3 separate regions of the Homo sapiens genome follow, and regions 1 and 3 are each linked to region 2. Evidence: promoter capture Hi-C in human tissues and cell types (Jung and others, 2019). All regions are on one chromosome and are shown on one strand. The core of a region is centred on a gene start or on the middle of the fragment in contact, and the rest is flanking DNA. Distances in the headings are between cores, read along the strand shown. Region 1 has its middle 45 kb from the start of GOLM2. Region 2 holds the start of FRMD5 (FERM domain containing 5). Region 3 overlaps FRMD5 (FERM domain containing 5).

Region 1 (2,708 bases), core at 118-2,617, 48 kb before region 2:
GGGCTAACACAATGATACCTCCAACTTCTGATTCTAGCCTCTCTCTGGGCCCTCTTCCCTCCTCCATACAGTCTTGCAGTGGCATTAGGACAGTTTATTTTAAAAGGATCTGTAATACTATCTAGAAAGCAAAGAATACAGACCAGGAACTCAAACTGATTTATCAGAGAGGGCCAGAGATTCTCCTCTCTCTCAACTCAGTTCTGTTCTCATAGGCTTTGCCCCTAGTTTTTATTATTTTCACCACAAACACTATAGGATTTGATCTTCAACTTCTCAGATTGTCTGTAATTGTCACATATCTGTCTTAGTCAGAAAAGTGACCTGTAGGCTGGGTGTAGTGGTTCATGCCTATAATTCCAGCACTTTGGGAGACTGAGGCGAGAGGATCTCTTGAGGCCAAGAGTTCAAGATCAGCCTGGGTAACATAGTGAGATTCCATCTCTACAAAAAATACAAAACTTAGCTGGGTGTGGTGACACGCGCCTGTAGTCCTATCTACTTGGGAAGCTAAGACGGGAGGATCACTTAAGCCCAGGAGTTCAGGGCTGCCACTGCACTCCAGCCTGGGCAATAGAGTGAGATCCTATCACTAAAAATAATTTTTTAAAAAGTGACCTATGGTTCACCCTTTCCTTAATTTCTATGGTTGTAGAACAGTAACCGGGCTGCACTATGACATTTCAGCACTAAGTGGAGCCAGACGCCCAACTGCCTTAAAATTTACAAATCAGCAGAAGAGTACAGCCTAGTTACCTGGAAAACCTGACTTGGCCATTGTGTTTACAGATGGACAGAGCTGGAGTTATATGGTACATCACATATATTTGAATGCCCAAGACTCAAGGAATAGATACCATGGAAATAATTACTTTAGCTCATCTCACATGGTTAAAGAAAACCTATCAAATAAACACAAACTAACCAAACTGGGTATTTTTTTGTTGCGGGGGGGGTGTTTGTTTGTTTGTTTTTGAGACAGGGTCTCTCTCTGTTGTCCAGGCTGGAGGGCAATGACACAATCTCGGCTCACTGCAACCTCCACCTGTGGGCTCAAGCAATCCTCCCACCTCAGCCTCCGGAGTAGCTGGGACCACAGGTGTATGCCACCATGCCCAGCTAATTTTTGTATTTTTTGTAGAGACAAGGTTTCACTATGTTACCCAGGCTAGTCTCAAACTCCTGAACTCAAGTGGTCTGCTTGCCTCAGCCTCCTAAAGTGCTGGGATTACAGGTGTGAGCCACTGTGCCTGGCCCCAAATTATTTTGTTATGTCATGATTCCCAACCCCTCTGCCCTTTGTTGCAAGCTTCTATAAGAAAGACATGTAGCCTCTGGTGGTTCAGATTCTGATCTGCAGATGAGAATGAGCCAATTTGGGAAAGAGCCCAGCCTAACAGAGGATTTGTGATAGCATTTGGGTGATGTTTTTGCAAGCAAATATGTGTTTGGCATAGGGACAGTTTTGCCCAGGGCAGAGTATTGAATTCTGAGAATAGGAGCCAGTTATGGGGTATGTATGTGTAGGAGGCCGATGGAGGGTTAATAGAGTCACAGATCATGGCAGTTGGGTAAAGGATGAGAAATTACTTAATGTTCAGGATCTATACCCTAGGGAAAAATAAAAAGAAATTACTTAATGGGTACAATATATGTTATTTGGGTGGTGAATACCCCGAAAATCCTGACCATTACAAAGTCTATGCATGTACTGAAATTACACTTATACCCCATGAACTTATGTAAATAAATTTTTTCTTTTTCTTTTTTTTTTGAGACAGAGTCTCATTCTGTCGCCCAGGCTGGAATGCAGTGGCTCGATCTCACCTCACTGCAACCTCCGCCTCCCAGGTTCAAGCAATTCCCTGCTTCAACCTCACGATTAGCCGGGATTACAGGCACCGGCCACCAAGCCCGGCTAATTTTTGTATTTTTAGTAGAGACGGGGTTTCACCATCTTGGCCAGGCTGGTCTTGAACTCCTGACCTCGTGATCCACCCACCTTGGCCTCCCAAAGTGCTGGGATTACAGGCATGAGCCACCGCACCCAGCCATAAATAAATAAATTTTTTCAAAACAAACAAACAACAGCAACAAAAAAAACCAGAGTCACAGATCATTCTTACCTAGAAACTCAGCACAGACTGAGCAAACCATTCAACTCTTGGGAGACCCTGAGATCCTAAGTATAAAAGATGAGCTAGGCCGGGCGTGGTGGCTCACGCCTCTAATCCCAGCACTTTGGGAGGCCAAGGCTGGCGGATCACGAGGTCAGGAGATCGAGACCATCCTGGCTAACACAGTGAAACCCCGCCTCTACTAAAAATACAAAAAAAAAAAAAAAGCCGGGTGTGGTGGTGGGTGCCTGTAGTCCCAGCTACTTGGGAGGCTGAGGCAGGAGAATGGTGTGGACCCAGGAGGCGGAGCTTGCAGTGAGCCGAGATCGCGCCACTGCATTCCAGCCTGGGCAACAAAGCCAGACTCTGTCTCAAAAAATAAATAAATAAATAAAAATAAAAAAGAGATGAGCTTCTGGCCCAGCACGGTGGCTCACGCCTGTAATCCCGCACTTTGGGAGGCCGAGGCAGGTGGATCATCTGAGATCAGGAGTTCAAGACCAGCCTGGCCAACATGGTGAAGCCCCGTCTCTACTAAAAGTAGAAAAATTAGCCAGGCATGGTGGCATGCGCTTGTACTCCCAGTTACTG
Region 2 (2,700 bases), core at 54-2,553:
AACAGTGCAAATGAAAGTAATAGGAAATTATGCCTATTTCATTATTTTAAATTAATATATTTATTACAGCATTAATGTTCTATGTTGACACGATTATTTTTTTTTTTTGAGACGGTGGCTTGCTCTTGTCCCCCAGGCTGGAGTGCAATGGCCGTGATCTTGGTTCACTGCAACCTCTGCCTCCTGGGTTCAAGCGATTCTCCTGCCTCAGCCTCCCGAGTAGCTGGGATTACAGGTGCGTGCTACCATGCACGGCTAATTTTTTTGTATTTTTAGTAGAGACGGGGATTCACCATGTTGGTCAGGCTGGTTTCGAACTCCTGACATCAGGTGATCCGCCCGCCTCGGCCTCCCAAAGTGCTGGGATTACAGGCTTGAGCCACTGCGCCCGGCCGACATAATTATTTTATAACATTTCCTCACATCAAAAATCTTTGAGGGAGAATATCTCTTATTGAAGTTCTGGTAAAAAACCTTGAAGTCTGTAAATTTGGGGTGACAAAGAGAAGGAGACAATTCTTTGTGATGTATACCTCCTGACATACTATGTTGTTCTATTGAGAAAGTCTGAAGACATAATTTCCAGTTCTAAAAGTGCAAGGAGAAGATTCATTGCTTCCTCTGCTCCCTACCAGCTGAAGGAGCAGTCTCCTTTTGTCTTCTGAAATAAAAAGGAGGCAAAGGGTGTTAGAGTGGAGGGTTTTTTAGGGGATTAAACCTGGGTACTTCAGAACCTCTGAGGTCCCTTTAGCTTTTATTTAAGTAGCTCCTGTTTCCCAAAATAAGAGGGCTGGAGCACAGAGGCCAGACGGGCCAACTTAGGGTACAGCACAGGTCGGGGGCAGTCGCCCTATCTGGAGCGAGAGGTATCCGCATTCTGCAGGTGCAGGGACTGTGATCCAGCACCCTGCCGCCTCCTCGCTCCGGCTCCCAAGAGGGCGGGAACCGCGGTGTTGCAGGGTGCGAGGCTTGGCTTCGGAAACGCAGATCAAGTGTATTTCAGGCGGCAGACATCAATCCAGTTGGGTGCTCACACCTGGCCCGGGGGAGGGGAAACAGCATCCATAGGAACCACGGGGCGGAGAGGAACCCCTCGTTTGGGACGCTAGAGGGCTGCTCCGGCTTGACTAGGTCCGACTGCTTTTCTGTGATTGCTTCTTTATCCCGCCCATCATCCCAGTACTCTATCTCGATTGGCTTTTCGGTCTGCCACTCGGTTCCGCCGCGCTGACCCCCATTGGCCCCCTCCAGTTGAGGCCCCGCCCCGCGAGCTGGGCACGGGCACTGGGGCGCCGAGGAGACAGAGCCCGGCGCTTGATCTGGGCTGGGGGGAGGCGGTGGCGGCTGAGGGAAGGAGGAGGATAAGGAGGAGGAACGAGGCCAGCAGGAGGCAACGGCAGCGACGGGGCCGGGGTGATGGTGCAGGTGCCTGGGGTCGGTGCGGAGCTGCCGGGCTGAGGGACGCCTGGTCCAGGGTCCGCAGCGCCGCCGCGTCGCTCCCGGGCGGGCGGGCGGGAAGATGCTGAGCAGGTTGATGAGCGGCAGCAGCAGGAGCCTGGAGCGCGAGTACAGCTGCACCGTGCGGCTGCTGGACGACAGCGAGTACACCTGCACCATCCAGGTCAGCGCCGCGCCGCCCCGCCCCGCCCGCGGGACCCCCTTGTCCCCCAAGTCTGGTCAACTTGGCCGGCGGCGGCCGCCGCCCAGGGGTCGCCCCAGCCCCAGCGCCGTGCTTTGTCCGTTCCTGGTTGCGGCGGACCGCCCTAGTGCAGGGCGTCTTCACCGGAGCCCCTGCCGGAGCCCTGGCACCCGGTGTGTCACCGCCGCCGCGGGGCGAGTCTCCGCGTCCCACACCCCTAAGTCCTACCCTGCTCTCCCTGGGTGAGGGCGCCCCGTCCTGGTTCCTCGAGCCCGCCCGAGTAAGGTGCACCTTTCCGGGGCGCCCGGAGGGAGGCGGGTAGGGCGGTAGGCTCCTAGCCCGGCCGCCCCGTCGGGGGCGCAGGCTTTGGCTCTCTGCCCGGGCAAGGACGTATGGCTGGCTTTTCTTATCTTTCTTGGGTTGGAAGGATAATGGTTTATGTCATAATTCCTCCCCCCACCATTTGTGAGTCAGAGCTTTCAGAAGGTAGAACTGAACGCGCAGCCCATGCGGAGTGGCCTATTGAAGGAAGCCCAGTCCTCTGGGTTTTAGAGATTTAGGCCCCCTCCCGCCTTTTGATCCCCAAATTTTATTGTGTTGGGCGGTTCTAGGGGACGTGAGGTAAAGATTTAGCAACAAGTCCCAGCGATTTGGGGCTTGGAAGTGGCCAGGAAGAATCGGCGACTTAGGAAAAACGCCAACAATACGGTAATGCTCAACAGCATTTCTTTCAGAACCTGGTATTTTTGAAGGGATTTTTACAACCTCTTGCTCATGTTCCTTCGCTACTGCTGTGTGCACGTCAGGAGTAGTAGTCTTTCCCGGGAATGCAGTCACAGCCCTCTCTCCTCCCTTATGAAAAAGTCAGAGATTGAAAACATTGACAATGCTCCCGTGTTTAGTTCATCAGCCAGGAGGATCCTGCGCTCATCGCCGGAAGCTGCTCTTTGTGGAGAAGCTAATTGAGCTGGACCCAGAGGGGTCTCACCTGATCCTTTGCCTTTGCAGCAGGAAAACAGGAGGAGGCTTCTGGCTCAGATGTGACAGACAAAAACTGTCGG
Region 3 (2,700 bases), core at 132-2,631, 43 kb after region 2:
CCAACTCCTGGGCTTAAGCAGTTTGTTGACCTTGGCCTTCCAAAGTGCTAGGACTACGGGTGTGAGCCATTGCACCCGTCAACATTTTTTCCCAAGTTTTAATTGTACTTAAAATTAATATAATGTAAAATTTACCATCTTAGCCATTTTTTTTTTAAGACTTGCCCTGTCGTCACCTAGGCTGGAGTGCAGTGGCGCCATCTTGGCTTACTGCAACCTCTACCTCCTGGGTTCAAGCAATTCTCCTGCCTCAGCCTCCTGAGTAGCTGGGATAGCAGGCACCTGCCATTATGCCCGGCTAATTTCTGAATTTTTGTAGAGACAGGGTTTCACCATGTTGGCCAGGCTGGTCTTGAACTCCTGACAGCAGGTGATTCACCCGCCTGGGCCTCCCAAAGTGCTGGGATTATGGGCGTGAGCCACCATGCCCGGCCTTAACCATTTTAAAATGTACAGTCCAGTCAGATGAAATACATTCATAATGTGCAACCATTACCACCATCCACCTCCACAGTCTTTTTCATCTGTAAAACTGAAACTCTATACCCTTTAAACAATAACTTCCCATTTCCCTATCCCCTCAACCCCTGGTAACCACCATTCTAGTATTCGTCTATACCTCATATAAATGGAATCATACAGTATTTGTCTTTTTGTGACTGGCTTATTTCACTTAGCATAGTTTTTTCAAGGTTTATTTATGTTAAAGCCTATGTCAGAGTTTCCTTCCTTTTAAAGTCTGAATAATCCTTCATTATATGTATATACCACATTTTGCTTATTCATTCATCTGTTGATGGACTTTTAGGTTGCCTCTACATTTTAGCTATTGTGAATAATGCTGCTGTGAACATGGATATACAAGTATCTCTTTGAGACCTTGTGTTCAGTTATTTTGAGTATATACCCACCCAGAGATAGAATTGCTGGACCATATGGTAATTATATTTTGAATTTTTTGAGGAAGTGCCATACTATTTTCTATAGTGGCTGTACCATTTTATAGTCCCACCAATAGTGCATAAGAGTTCCAGTTTCTCCACATCCTGTCCAGCATTTGTCTTCTCTTTTCTTGATGATAGGCATCTTAATGATGTGAGGAGGTATCTCATTGTAATTTTGATTTGCATTTCCTCAGTGATTAGTGATGTTGATCATCTTTTCATGTGCTTATTGGCCATTTGTATATCTTCTTTGAAGAAATGTCTATTCAAGATCTTTGCCCGTTTACTTTTTTTTTTAGAAAATATTTGCAGTACAGTTTAATAAAGAAGTCAGATCCACAATATATAAACAACTCCTGCAAAGCAATAAGAAAAAGATAAACAGCCAATTTTAACAGACAAAATATGTCATCAAGCACTTCACAAAAGACTATCTCCAGATGGTCAGTAAATGTATGTTCCATTATTGTTCATCAGGGAAGTGCAAGTAAAAATTGATGTGCAATATCAGTAGACATCCACCAGAGTGGTTAAAGTTAAAAAAAAATTAAGGCCAAGTGTTACCAGAGATTAGAGCAACTTAGCTCACAATCAAATCTGGTGGAGCTTTTTCCCATTTACTGAGGTAACTCAAGAATGCTGTTTGGTGGTTTCTAATAAAATTAAACATACGCTTATTCTGCAAGGCTTGTATGAGAATGTGTGTAGCAACTTTATAATTGTCCCAAACTGGAACAAACCAAATGTTCAGTAGGATTATGAATAAACAAATTGTGGCTTATTTATGTATTTGCACATTGGAGTAATACTACACAATAAGGTTAAAGAATTAAGTATTGATACATATAACAACCTAGATTTATCTTTAAAAATTGAGCAAAAGAAGGGAGACACAAAAGATGTACAATAGTGTTTACTGCTGCAGGTTTTTGACTGGAAAAGGGGAAAATATAGTTTTGTTTTGTTTTTTGGGACAGTCTCCCTCTATCACCCAGGCTGGAGTACAGTGGCGCAATCTCAGCTCACTGCACCTGTGCCTCCCAGGTTCAAGCAATTCTCATGCCTCAGCCTCCTGAGTAGCTGGGACTACAGGCATGCGCCAGGACACCTGGCTAATTTTTGTATTTTTAGTAGAGAGGGGATTTTACCATGTTGGCCAGGCTGGTCTCGAACTCCTGACCTCAAGTGACCTGCCCACCGCGGCCTCCTAAAGTGCTGAGATTACAGTTGTGATCCACCGCGCCTGGCCTGGCCTTTGCCCATTTACTAATTGTGATTTTTGTTTGTTTGTTTTAGGAGTTTACTATATATTCCGGACATTAATCGCTTATCAGATATGTGATTTATAAAGATTTTCTCCCATTCTGTGGGTTGCCTTTTTACTCTGTTGATTTTGATGCACAAAATTTTTATAATTTTCATGAAGTCCAAACTTTTTTTTCTTTCCTTGCTTGTGCCTTTGTTCTCATATCCAGAAAATCATTGCCAAATCCAGTGTTGTGAAGCTTCTGTTTGTTCTAAGAGTTTTATAGTTTTAGGTTTTACATCTAGGTCTTTTAGCACTACTCTTTAATTTCTTTTAGCACTGTTTTGTAGTTTCATCCAATGAATCTTTTACCTCCTTGGTTAATTCCTATGTATTTTATTCTTTTTGATGCAATTATATATTGAATTGTTTTTGTACTTTTCTTTTCGGATTATTATTTGTTAGTATATAGTACCCAACTGATTTTTGTGTGTTAATTCTTTTTTCTTT

The links. Contacts are between HindIII fragments. The study calls those that stand out against the background at their distance.
Region 1: a contact is called between a fragment that was not itself captured here and the fragment with the promoter of FRMD5 in region 2, in 1 of the 25 tissues and cell types used here (adrenal gland).
Region 3: a fragment that was not itself captured here is called in contact with the fragment with the promoter of FRMD5 in region 2 in 1 of the 25 tissues and cell types used here (adrenal gland).

What each region holds. Positions count from the first base shown.
Region 1 is chr15:44,242,012-44,244,719 of GRCh38, reverse strand. No RefSeq gene overlaps it. Among named protein-coding and RNA genes, the nearest start is that of GOLM2, 45 kb to the left of the region's middle. The HindIII fragment of the contact is 7,356 bases long and covers 1-2,708 here.
Region 2 is chr15:44,193,874-44,196,573 of GRCh38, reverse strand. FRMD5 (FERM domain containing 5) reads left to right here and starts at 1,303. Exons shown (of 14, transcript NM_032892.5): 1 at 1,303-1,621. The coding sequence starts at 1,520. RefSeq lists enhancers at 803-902, 418-917, 918-1,419 and silencers at 1,753-1,802, 1,913-1,972. The HindIII fragment of the contact is 20,453 bases long and covers 1-2,700 here.
Region 3 is chr15:44,151,421-44,154,120 of GRCh38, reverse strand. The region is part of intron 1 of FRMD5 (FERM domain containing 5); the gene reads left to right. Among named protein-coding and RNA genes, the nearest start is that of FRMD5, 42 kb to the left of the region's middle. The HindIII fragment of the contact is 3,584 bases long and covers 1-2,700 here.